Regions from separate parts of the Homo sapiens genome. Here region 2 is linked to region 1. Evidence: promoter capture Hi-C in 16 types of primary human blood cells and fetal thymus (Javierre and others, 2016). All regions are on one chromosome and are shown on one strand. The core of a region is centred on a gene start or on the middle of the fragment in contact, and the rest is flanking DNA. Distances in the headings are between cores, read along the strand shown.

Region 1 (6,313 bases), core at 2,324-4,823:
ATGTTACTGTGTCACAATATTCTATGCGATGTAACCCATGTCCTCCTCCCCCTCACAAATCTCCTATAAATATTCATTGCTTTCAAAAACTTTAATACTACTGGTCCGAATTGGTCAATAATGACAAATGCATGGTTTCTAAATTACTGTATATTGTTCTACAGAGATTACTAGAGTATATATAGCAAGGGGATGTTAAGCAGTAAGAAAACACAGTTCACATTGTATTTGGATTAGATTGGCTTGGATAGAAGTGAAACAAACAATGTTAGCAAAGAAGTCTAAAGACATGTGGCCCACTGTAATTGTACAGAATCAAAAACCTGAATAGTACTCATTAAAATGAGAGAGCTCAATTGTTATAAAAGAAATGCTGCTAACAGAGAACTGTAAATGTTTAGACACCCCTGTGAATCACTAAATAATAATGTAAAAAGGATAAAAATGAGAATTAAGTTATAAGCCTGAGAGCATTACTGCTACACATCTAAAAAAATAATTCTGATCCTCTCTTTTTTTTTTCCAAGAGAAAATGGGCGACTATAAAAGACCTTGCAATAAGAGAAATAAAAATACCATGTCTTCACAGCAGTGTACATAAATAAACCATAAAAATGTGCAGATAATAATATATTTAGCTGCCCAAACATGGGCATTTAATTTCTAGAAATGATATATAACAATGTAACAATTAGATACTCAGCCATGAATGTGTATGGCACAGTCTTCATCATTAGCAAACTTTGTGTATAAAATATTATTTATTATTTATTATAATACTGCTTTCAGAGGCAATGATCATACCTTACAGCTTTTAACACAAATATGATGCAAAAGGATTAAAAGTATATCATAAACAAACAATAAATTCTTTCTAAATACACTTAAATTCATATTTTACATGAAAAATATAAACTTCCTACATTTGTGACTACTGACTTTTAAAAAGACCTAGAAAACTATTGTTACGGGCAATGTTAAATGACATAATGCTTATGTAATGGAAAGTGTGGATTTTCCTCTAAATAAACTATAATCCCTTAACTTCATTACTAGGGAAAATATTGTTAAAGAGAAGGAAAGCAAGGGAATTCTGCTAGGTTGCATAAATATTGACATAATCTTCACTCTTTCTTCCCCAAACTGGTAATAGACATAGTTTATTCCACCCAACAAAATGCTCTTATAAGACCAAAACTACCCTTATTAACAACTTCTCTGCAGTCACGATGAAAAGAAACACTACTTGTCTGAAAAATACCGACAGCGCTGCCCTTTTCAGATTAGGGTGTGCCTACGAATCTTTTGGGAAGTCTTCCATTAAGGATTCCTGGGTTTGCTGAAACTGAAGTCTACTAGGATCAGAGAAATTAACACAGGTCTAATATGGTGCAAGGAACGAGTGAGAGACACCTGAGGTTATAAATAGCAAAGCATGCTGCGGGGTGGGGAAGACCATTCTGAAGTGCAATGTTCAAGACGCTGGCTTAATATATGACTAAGTGTCAGAAGTCAGGTTTTCTGAGAATTACTTTCCAGATAAACAACTTTATAGCACTGCACTTAATCTTACTTACTAGAGACATCTCATTTATCACTGAATTACAAGTAACTTTAATCCTATTGATATTGCCATAAAGCCCGTTGAAAATCCATCCTGGCACTTTTAAAGGGTTTGGGGCCCTGTTACATGGGGATCCTCTTGCAAAGGTCTCAGCCAGAAATTACACCCCGAGGGTGTCTGTATCCCCTGGCCTCTTTGTCAACAATCAAGGAGAAGAGGAGGGGCAAAAATGATCTCTGCATCTGCCAGCACTTTCTTCGGCCCCTTTCCTATAGGGTCGGGTTCTCCCACTTCAGTCAAACTAACTTTGTGTGTCTCTTTCCTCCTCCCACACTGGGTAACCAGCTGCTTTTCACTTCATCGACAAAACTGGACACGGATCAATTTCAACTGACCTTTGCCGAAAGGTGGCGCTGTTGAGGTAAAAACCAACTCGCTCCAACAATAGTTTCCACTCTTCGATCCTTTTGCAGGCTTTTCAGAATTTTTTTTTTTTTTTAATGCACCCTCCTAGCGTCTCCCCCTTCTCATAAAGTAAAATAAATACGATTAAAAACACCAAATGCATTTCATTAATTGAAGGAATCAACAGTCCCAACTTCTAAGCAGACGGGCTGGTCTTCCAAAGGCTGGGTCGGTTTCAGGAGCTTTCTCTCCAAATAAATCTCTGCTTCTTCGACTTGCCTATCGCTTTAAAATCTTAGAAACAGAGTTAGTTGTTGGTTTCCTTCTTTTTTCTTTTTCTTTTTTATTTCTTTTTTGCATAAACTTTTAGAGAATCAATCTAGAAATTTGAACTACTTATTAGCATTTGCAACTGGGGGTGGGGGGAGCAGCCTCCCCCACCCCACCCCCCACTCTGCGTTTCCGGACTAGTTCCAGAAACCGCGGTTTAAAATTTAACCCTTCGAGGGTAGCTGGTGAGGGCTGGGGTATTGTTTTTCCCCCTTGCTCCCTGCCACGATCAAGTCCGAAATAATTAAAGGAAACGTAAAAGTGCAAAGGGCGCGCCTGACCCTGATAAACAGAGGTCAGATTTCGTAAGGGGACGGGTGAGTGTGAGTGTGTGTGTGTTTGTGTGTGTGTGTGTAAGAGAGAGAGAGAGCGAGCGCGCAATATGAGTCTCAAAGGCCAAACTCCGGCCAGTCAGGAGCCGGAAGGCTGAGCCCGGCTGACCTGACTTTGAGCTTCCCCGGAGTTATCTCGCATAGGCGCTCGCTCTGTCCAAGGGCACGCGACGCCAGCGGGCAGCCGGTCTCCGTGAAGAATGGCCTCTAAACAACTTATTTTACCTCGTTGTAAAGAGAGGGATAAAATGGGCTTTCCCTCTCCACGGATGCCCAGCCTTCTGGGCAGGCGCATGGCCGGGCGGCGCCCAGCCCGCAGCCCCGATCCGGACACCCCACTGCATCCCTCCCTTCCCGGTCCCTTCCCCGCACGGGCGCCCGAGAGACGGACAAAGAGTTGGGGCCAAGTTTGAGCGCCGGGCACGGCCAGGCTCAGGGAAGGAAGGTCCCCGGCAGACACCTGGGTACCAGAGTTGGTGCGAGGAGGAAAAGCTGGGAGGCGAATTCACAATCCTGGGGGTGGAGGGCAGGCAGGGGAGGGGAATCAGGCCAATCCCAGCCGAGTGAGCCCCCAGCGAGCTGGGGCTCCGGATGGGAGGCCTGTCTCGCGCTCCAAAGAAAAGCAAACCGCCCTCCCAGGTCCGCCCGGATTGCCGAAGCCCCTCTGGAAAAACTCCTTCCCCTCTTACACCAAACTTTGCGCCGGGCCTCGTTCCCTCCCGGGTAGGCAGCGGCGCAGGAAGGGTTAAGCCAGCCCGTCCCAGCTGACAGTCAGCTGATTGGGCCCTGATTGACAGCTCCGAAAAGTTTCCTTGTTTCTATACTATTATGCTAATCGCGGCCGCTCTCGCCGCCTCCCATTGGCCCGGAGTGCCAGTCAATTTCTCATTTGGACCTGACGTCACGAGTGCTATAAAACTCAGCAATTGCTTTAAACTCTTCTTGCTGGATCAGAGGCTTTAAAATCTTTTTTCATCTTCTAGCTGTAGCTCGGGCTGCTTGTCGGCTTGGCCTCCCCCTCCCCCCTTTGCTCTCTGCCTCGTCTTTCCCCAGGACTTCGCTATTTTGCTTTTTTAAAAAAAGGCAAGAAAGAACTAAACTCCCCCCTCCCTCTCCTCCAGTCGGGCTGCACCTCTGCCTTGCACTTTGCACAGAGGTAGAGAGCGCGCGAGGGAGAGAGAGGAAAGAAAAAAAATAATAAAGAGAGCCAAGCAGAAGAGGAGGCGAGAAGCATGAAGTGTTAACTCCCCCGTGCCAAGGCCCGCGCCGCCCGGACAGACGCCCGCCGCGCCTCCAGCCCCGAGCGGACGCCGCGCGCGCCCTGCCTGCAGCCCGGGCCGGCGAGGCGAGCCCTTCCTTATGCAAAGCGCGCAGCGGAGCGGCGAGCGGGGGACGCCGCGCACCGGGCCGGGCTCCTCCAGCTTCGCCGCCGCAGCCACCACCGCCGCCACCGCAGCTCGCGGAGGATCTTCCCGAGCCTGAAGCCGCCGGCTCGGCGCGCAAGGAGGCGAGCGAGCAAGGAGGGGCCGGGGCGAGCGAGGGAGCACATTGGCGTGAGCAGGGGGGAGGGAGGGCGGGCGCGGGGGGCGCGGGCAGGGCGGGGGGGTGTGTGTGTGAGCGCGCTCGGAGGTTTCGGGCCAGCCACCGCCGCGCAAGCTAGAAGCGCCCCAGCCCGGCAAGCTGGCTCACCCGCTGGCCACCCAGCACAGCCCGCTGGCCCCTCTCCTGCAGCCCATCTGGCGGAGCGGCGGCGGCGGCGGCGGCGGCGGCAGGAGAATGGCATCAGAACTGGCAATGAGCAACTCCGACCTGCCCACCAGTCCCCTGGCCATGGAATATGTTAATGACTTCGATCTGATGAAGTTTGAAGTGAAAAAGGAACCGGTGGAGACCGACCGCATCATCAGCCAGTGCGGCCGTCTCATCGCCGGGGGCTCGCTGTCCTCCACCCCCATGAGCACGCCGTGCAGCTCGGTGCCCCCTTCCCCCAGCTTCTCGGCGCCCAGCCCGGGCTCGGGCAGCGAGCAGAAGGCGCACCTGGAAGACTACTACTGGATGACCGGCTACCCGCAGCAGCTGAACCCCGAGGCGCTGGGCTTCAGCCCCGAGGACGCGGTCGAGGCGCTCATCAGCAACAGCCACCAGCTCCAGGGCGGCTTCGATGGCTACGCGCGCGGGGCGCAGCAGCTGGCCGCGGCGGCCGGGGCCGGTGCCGGCGCCTCCTTGGGCGGCAGCGGCGAGGAGATGGGCCCCGCCGCCGCCGTGGTGTCCGCCGTGATCGCCGCGGCCGCCGCGCAGAGCGGCGCGGGCCCGCACTACCACCACCACCACCACCACGCCGCCGGCCACCACCACCACCCGACGGCCGGCGCGCCCGGCGCCGCGGGCAGCGCGGCCGCCTCGGCCGGTGGCGCTGGGGGCGCGGGCGGCGGTGGCCCGGCCAGCGCTGGGGGCGGCGGCGGCGGCGGCGGCGGCGGAGGCGGCGGGGGCGCGGCGGGGGCGGGGGGCGCCCTGCACCCGCACCACGCCGCCGGCGGCCTGCACTTCGACGACCGCTTCTCCGACGAGCAGCTGGTGACCATGTCTGTGCGCGAGCTGAACCGGCAGCTGCGCGGGGTCAGCAAGGAGGAGGTGATCCGGCTGAAGCAGAAGAGGCGGACCCTGAAAAACCGCGGCTATGCCCAGTCCTGCCGCTTCAAGAGGGTGCAGCAGAGACACGTCCTGGAGTCGGAGAAGAACCAGCTGCTGCAGCAAGTCGACCACCTCAAGCAGGAGATCTCCAGGCTGGTGCGCGAGAGGGACGCGTACAAGGAGAAATACGAGAAGTTGGTGAGCAGCGGCTTCCGAGAAAACGGCTCGAGCAGCGACAACCCGTCCTCTCCCGAGTTTTTCATGTGAGTCTGACACGCGATTCCAGCTAGCCACCCTGATAAGTGCTCCGCGGGGGTCCGGCTCGGGTGTGGGCTTGCTAGTTCTAGAGCCATGCTCGCCACCACCTCACCACCCCCACCCCCACCGAGTTTGGCCCCCTTGGCCCCCTACACACACACAAACCCGCACGCACACACCACACACACACACACACACACACACACACCCCACACCCTGCTCGAGTTTGTGGTGGTGGTGGCTGTTTTAAACTGGGGAGGGAATGGGTGTCTGGCTCATGGATTGCCAATCTGAAATTCTCCATAACTTGCTAGCTTGTTTTTTTTTTTTTTTTACACCCCCCCGCCCCACCCCCGGACTTGCACAATGTTCAATGATCTCAGCAGAGTTCTTCATGTGAAACGTTGATCACCTTTGAAGCCTGCATCATTCACATATTTTTTCTTCTTCTTCCCCTTCAGTTCATGAACTGGTGTTCATTTTCTGTGTGTGTGTGTGTTTTATTTTGTTTGGATTTTTTTTTTTAATTTTACTTTTAGAGCTTGCTGTGTTGCCCACCTTTTTTCCAACCTCCACCCTCACTCCTTCTCAACCCATCTCTTCCGAGATGAAAGAAAAAAAAAAGCAAAGTTTTTTTTTCTTCTCCTGAGTTCTTCATGTGAGATTGAGCTTGCAAAGGAAAAAAAAATGTGAAATGTTATAGACTTGCAGCGTGCCGAGTTCCATCGGGTTTTTTTTTTAGCATTGTTATGCTAAAATAGAGAAAAAAATCCTCATGAACCTTCCACAATCA
Region 2 (6,048 bases), core at 2,794-5,293, 550 kb after region 1:
TCTTTGAATTAACTTTGCTTCTAAGAGAAGTTACTATTTATTCCTAATTAGATGGGGAGGAAATTCTTTCAAGAGGAACCTCTACTTTTTACACCCTTGTAGAGAAGTGAAACAGTGCAAATCAAATTCAATTGCTGGCATGAAAGGATAACACTAAAGAAATTTGAGGCAGCGACTGCCTGGCTGTTCACTAATGTTGACGCTCCCTCCCACCCACCCAGCACACAGCAAACTATATTTCCCAGCCTCCCTTGCAGGCAGCCATGGTCATGTGACTGAGTTGTAGCCAATGACATAAGTGTTAGTGGCCTGGAGAATGTGGCAACCTCAAAAGGTCTTCGTTGGTCAAGGTGAAGCCACAGAATGGAAGGAGCCTGGGTTCCTGAATTACCACTTGGAGGACAGCGGCTTGCTGATCACAGCACCTGTTTTGGATTTTATGTTAATGAAAAACAAACTTACTGATTTAAAGCATTGCACACTTAGGTTTTAGTAGGGTCTCCTGCGCATGATGCAAAAATTATTGGTGAGTCCACTTCCCAAGAAAAAGTTTCCCCTTCCCACAGCAAGGCAACACTTTACTCCTCTAAAGACAACTTTTTCTCCCAACAGGCTCCAACTTCAAGTCACACATATATTAACAACTGATCAGCATGAAACAACCCGAGGAGTAGGGCTGCAGTCACACCTGTTTATTTTACTGTTGTGATGGCAGCAAATATAATGGCTACAGCTTCCTTGGGAATAATCCTGCTATAAGCGTTAATGGGCGAAGAGCCGTGACGTGTGATTTGGGTCAGTGTCTTGTGTTCACAAGGAGCACTCAAGGCTGCTAATCTGGGCTGTAATTTCTCGTTTCTCCTCAACCACTTTGCCTTTTATGGGGCTTATATTGATGAATGCAGAGGATAACTGTCAGCTCACCTGGTAAAGCTCAGTGCAAGAAGTTTAACAATTCATCTCGTTTCCTAAAGGCGGCAGAAGAGAAGCAAGCTCTGGGCCTTCAACAGGTTCGACCCACCCTATTCTCCTCACTTCCTCTCTTACCTCCTTCCCCCAACCTATGTAGCCCCATTCATTTCGCCAGATTGATTTTTTCAATTGTAACGGAAGTCATGTCACTCCTGTTCTTAAAATTCCTCAGCAGCTTCTTATGCAACTCAAATACAAGTGCAGTCTTGGGTCAGGGGCCCATTCTTCACCCTCCTCTCTGGATCCATGCCCCGGGCTTTGGGACTGCAGTATCCTCCCTCTCTAACCGTGAGCTCAGCCATGTGATTTATTTGGGGCATCAGTGTGTGACAGAGGAATGGGTATGCCAGTTCTGGGTCTAGACTTGAAAGTCCTTATGTGTTTTGAGTTGCTGTCTTGCATTTCTGCCCTTGCCATAAGAAAGTCATGTCTGGTCTAGCCCTGCTGGTCCCAGGAAGATGAGAGACATGTGGAGGAGAACCACCCCAGCTAAAGTGCCCCACCCATGTCCAGCCTAGGGCAGAAAGCCCAGCTGATGCAAAGATGCAGGAGCAAAACAAGCTGACCCACAGACACAGGGGGAAGCCCCACCAAAACCAGCAGGACCAGTAGGGCAGGGCAGCCAAGCCCAGCCTAGTTCTGCTGAACCCCACACACACGTGAGAAGTAAATACTGATTGCCGTGAGCCACTCAGTTGCCACACGGTTACGCAGCAGCAGCAACCAAGTCACTGGCCTATGCTTCATCTTGAAGCTCTAATGACCTGTTTAAACTCCTCCCATTCCAGACCTCCAGGGTGCCCCATACTCTGCAATCACACTGGCCTTCCCTCAGGTACAAGCATGACATGTTTTTTTCTTGCCCTGGAGTCTTTCCCTTAATGGAACCACATGCTTTTACCACTCCATGTCCTTCTGCATGGCTGGGTACTGCTCACTCTTCATATTTTAACTCAGAAGTAACTTTTTTTTTTTTTTTTTTTGAGACAGAGTCTCACTCTGTCGGCCAGGCTGGTGTGCGGTGGGATGATCTCAGCTCACTGCAACCTCCACCTCCCAGGTTCAAGCAATTCTCTGCCTCAGCCTCCCAAGTGGCTGGGATTACAGGCGCCGGCCACCACGCCAGGCTAATTTTTGTATTTTTAGTAGAGACGGGGTTTCGCCATCATGGCCAGGCTGGTCTTGAACTCCTGACCTCGTGATCCACCCACCTCGGCCTCCCAAAGTGCTGGGATTACAAGGGTCAGCTACTGCGCCCTGCCACTCAGATGCAGTCTTAAGAGAAAGCCCCTCAACAATGCCATCTGGGCTTGGCCTTCCTGATCATTCTCTGTGGAGTGTCCCAGCTGTGCTGCAAATGGGTGACAGCTGTACCAGAATATCGATGCCCCTCAAGGTTTTGCGTCCTACAACTGCCAGCCCTGAGCAGCCTCATCCACATTACTCAATTGTGCCGAATAAATCCCCTGTGTTTGCCCCAGTGTGAAAGAGCGGGCACGTGCTGCTTGCACTATTATGCTTACTTCCTTGACAAAGGCAAAATCTGGCCCTCCTCTTGTTTTTGTAAATAAAGTTTAATTGGCACACAGCCACAGCCACTCATTATGTAACAGCCATGGCTGCTTTTGAGTTACACTGGCAGAACTGAATAGTTGTGATGGTGACTGTATGGGTCACAAAGTCTAAAATATTTGCTATCTAGCTGTTTGCAGAAACAGTCTGCTGACCACTGCACTAAAGTATAAACTGTCAGAGGATAGAAACCTTGTCGCTTTTGTATCTCGGGTATCTAGCACAGTGCCTGTCCCTCAGGGATTCTCATTGCATATTTGTCCAGGGAATAGAGGAATCATGACTCCAGTGGACACCTGTGTTTAACTCCCATCTCTGTACCAAAGGCGGGGGTCCCTTACAGTTCTGGAGGTCACTCTGGGGATGGTGGTAGAGATGTGCTATATTGCAGCTGAGCCCGGAACATCAGGGCAGCTACAATGCTGGTGACCACTGTGTGGCACTTGAATTTCTCAGAAAGGTGGTAACGAGGCTCCTGCCTCCACTGGCAGCAGCCGGAGTGCTGGGTCTGCATCTGCTGCAGGCAAGACAATTTGAAAGTTTGAAGAAATAAGAACAACTCAAAGTTTAATTTACTCAAATAAGCAATTGATGCTTTAGAGTATAATTATCAGAGAAAACAAAAAAACACAACACATTCTTTAGCATACGTTATGTTAATGGCAGGTTAGGATGGCCCACTGTGCATAATTTAGCCAAACAATTGATACCAAATTTTTATATATATATATGATTACTGCTACAGAAACGAAGCACCAAGACAAAGCACAGGAGAGCTCATAATAGACACACGTGAACTCTGAAGCCCTAATTACATCACGGGGGACGGTAATCAGTTGCTGCTGAACCAAGCAGAAAATGGGGGTAATTTGTAAACAGGTAGAGTGGCAGTCCAGGTGCACCGGCATGTGTGTGGGGCTGGAGGGCTGGGGCCCCTGGGCTTCCATCTGAGCTTTGCAAGGATGGAGAGGTTCAGGATCACTTTTCTCAGCTGAAAACACAACCTCCAAGCTCTACACAGGTCAGCTCCCTCCTGGCCTGCCCTTCAGTTCAAAAAATAGAAAGTCGAAGGCTAGCTTTTTGAAGGAAGCTTCTCCATGCTCCATGAAATAGAAAATGATTTTCCGTGTCTGTGATCTGAGGCCCATTGCCCTGTATCTTCCCCTGATATCCTAGAAGACGTGAGTCCCTGGCATCTTAGGGAGCAGAGGGATGCCAGTCTATAGCCACCTTGACCACAAGGGATATTTTCAGGAGAGGATATAGTGAATTCTCCTTCCTGCAACTCCTCTGCAGACAGGAGATTTTGTGCTAGGTAATTGCTCGGGTGTATTCTGGTTCAAAATGCAGAGTCTGTGAATCTGAATCAATGAGTTGTCAGATTTCTTTCTTTCCTTCATTCATGCAGGACTACAAATCTGCTCACGTCATGGTCCTACTGTGAGCCAGTCATCAGATCGCAACCAAGAGTCACCAAGTACCTGGAATACAGCTGCCCTGTGACGTTACCTTCCATCTGCATCACCCAAAACAAACTGACAAGCAAAAAAAAAAAAAAAAAAAAAAAAAAAAATCAGGACAGTCTCAGGAGAAAGTCACCCAGTTCTGACATCCAGAACTGTAAGGGAATCGATTTGTGTTATTTTATGCCACAAAATTTGTAGTAATCTGTTACAGCAGCCACAGGACACTGATACACATGGTGGCCCCTAGAGGGAGTTCAAGACAGGATGCAGGTATTTGTGCATTAACGACATCATTTCTATATGCCAGGCTTTCATAAACCTTGGTAGACCAGGCTGACATTCCTCAGTCGATCAATCAATTAATCAATTAACCAATGGATCAATCTTCATCTGGTCTATTTCTGGCCTTGTCAAATTCATTAGCAAAACCACCATAAGCTTTTCAGCATTGCGGCTCAAGGGAATCTAAGAAAACACTTCAGACTATTAAGACTTGCTTCTCACACAAGTATTTGTGGCCTTTAAATACATGGTGAATCCATGAGGGTAAGGACAATTTGTGTCTCTTTCCCTCCCCACCCTCAATGCCTTGCATGTGCTTACTACTCAATAAATATTTATTGACTGAATGAAAGAATAAATGAATGAATGAATGAATACATATGTGAATGGCTGGAAGGGTGGCATGCTGGTTGAAAGGAGAAGCAATATTTGTGGATGCCAAGGACATATGTAAATTAAATGGCTTTGCAAATTTCTGATAAAAGGTCAGTTGCTTTATTGTTTAAACCACGGGGTCAGGTAGCTCAGGCTGGGGGTTACTTTTACATGGAAGGGAGATAATGAGTTGTGAGTTGTTTAAGAATTTGAGTAACCAATCGTATTAGGAATATGGGAAGTACGAGAAGAAGAGAAAAGAAGGACTAGAAATGGAAGAAGAGTTGGACACAAAGAGACATTTGTTGTAGTGCAGGCCTGGGGGACAAAGAGAGCAGGGTGAAGTTGCCCACACACACCCAGCCCTGGATTTCTTTTTGAGAGAAAGAGGTGGGAGCTGAATGGCTGCAGGAAGAATCTACCAGAGTCGGTTCAAAATCTCCTGCTGGGCTGAGCCAAGCTATGCTCACCGTGGAGTCCTCCTGGTGAGACAGAAAGCTTTGTTTTTCTGTGTACTGGGGAGGAACTGGGAGAAACACTCCCCGGTGAGCTCTCTCACCCTCTTCCCACCATGTGAAGATGCACAAGAAGGGCAGACATCTATGAATCAGGAGCCCAGCCTTCACCAGACAGTGAACCTTCCACTGCCTTAATCTTAGACTTCCCAGTCTCCAGAACCATGTAAAACAATTGTGGTTAAGGCCATCCAGTCTGTGATACTTTTGTCACAGCAGCCTGAACTGATAAAGACAACAGGATACAGGAAAGGAAGAACCAGAGAGAATGACTAATTTTTCTTGATCATCTACTATGTGCTGGTGCTACTATATCCCTGGGCTGAGAGCTTTACAGTTCAAGGGAAAAAAGGGAGTTAGACAAATGCAGAGAAAATGAACTAAACACTTGGATACATACTGACAATAATAATAACAGTGGCTACTTCTCTTGAGCAATGAACATGTGCTGAGCACAGTCCTGCAAGGGAGGATTATTATCCCTACAATATAGAAAAGAAAACTGTGGCCGGGTGCAGTGGCTTATGCCTGTAATTCTAGCACTTTGGGAGGGCAAGGCAGACAGATCATCTGAGGTCAGGAGCTCGAGGCCAGCCTGGCCAACATGGTGAAAGCCCGTCTCTACTAAAAATACAAAAATTAGCCAGCCATGGTGGTGTGCACCTGTAGTCCCAGCTACTTGGGAGGCTGAGGCAGGAGAATCACTTGAACCCGGGAGGCAGAGGTTGCAGTGAGCTGAGATTGTGCCACTGCACTCCAGCCTGGGCAACAGAGTGAGACTCCATCTCAAAAAAAAAAAAAAAAAAAAAAAAAAAAAAAAAAAAAAAGGAAAAGAAAAAAGGAAAGACGAGCTCCAGAGAGATTAC

The links. The method cuts DNA at HindIII sites, captures the fragments that hold promoters and counts their contacts. A CHiCAGO score of 5 or more calls a contact.
Region 2: a contact is called between a fragment that was not itself captured here and the fragment with the promoter of MAF in region 1, in 1 of 17 cell types (M2 macrophages). The highest score is 6.6, in M2 macrophages.

Annotation. Positions count from the first base shown.
Region 1 is chr16:79,597,997-79,604,309 of GRCh38, reverse strand. MAF (MAF bZIP transcription factor) reads left to right here and starts at 3,573. Exons shown (of 2, transcript NM_005360.5): 1 at 3,573-5,525. The coding sequence starts at 4,408. LOC101928230 (a long non-coding RNA gene) reads right to left here and starts at 3,423. Exons shown (of 3, transcript NR_188556.1): 1 at 3,321-3,423; 2 at 1,960-2,263. RefSeq lists an enhancer at 3,364-3,658. The HindIII fragment of the contact is 16,856 bases long and covers 1-6,313 here.
Region 2 is chr16:79,045,742-79,051,789 of GRCh38, reverse strand. All of the region lies in intron 8 of WWOX (WW domain containing oxidoreductase), which reads right to left. Among named protein-coding and RNA genes, the nearest start is that of WWOX-AS2, 550 kb to the right of the region's middle. The HindIII fragment of the contact is 814 bases long and covers 3,637-4,450 here.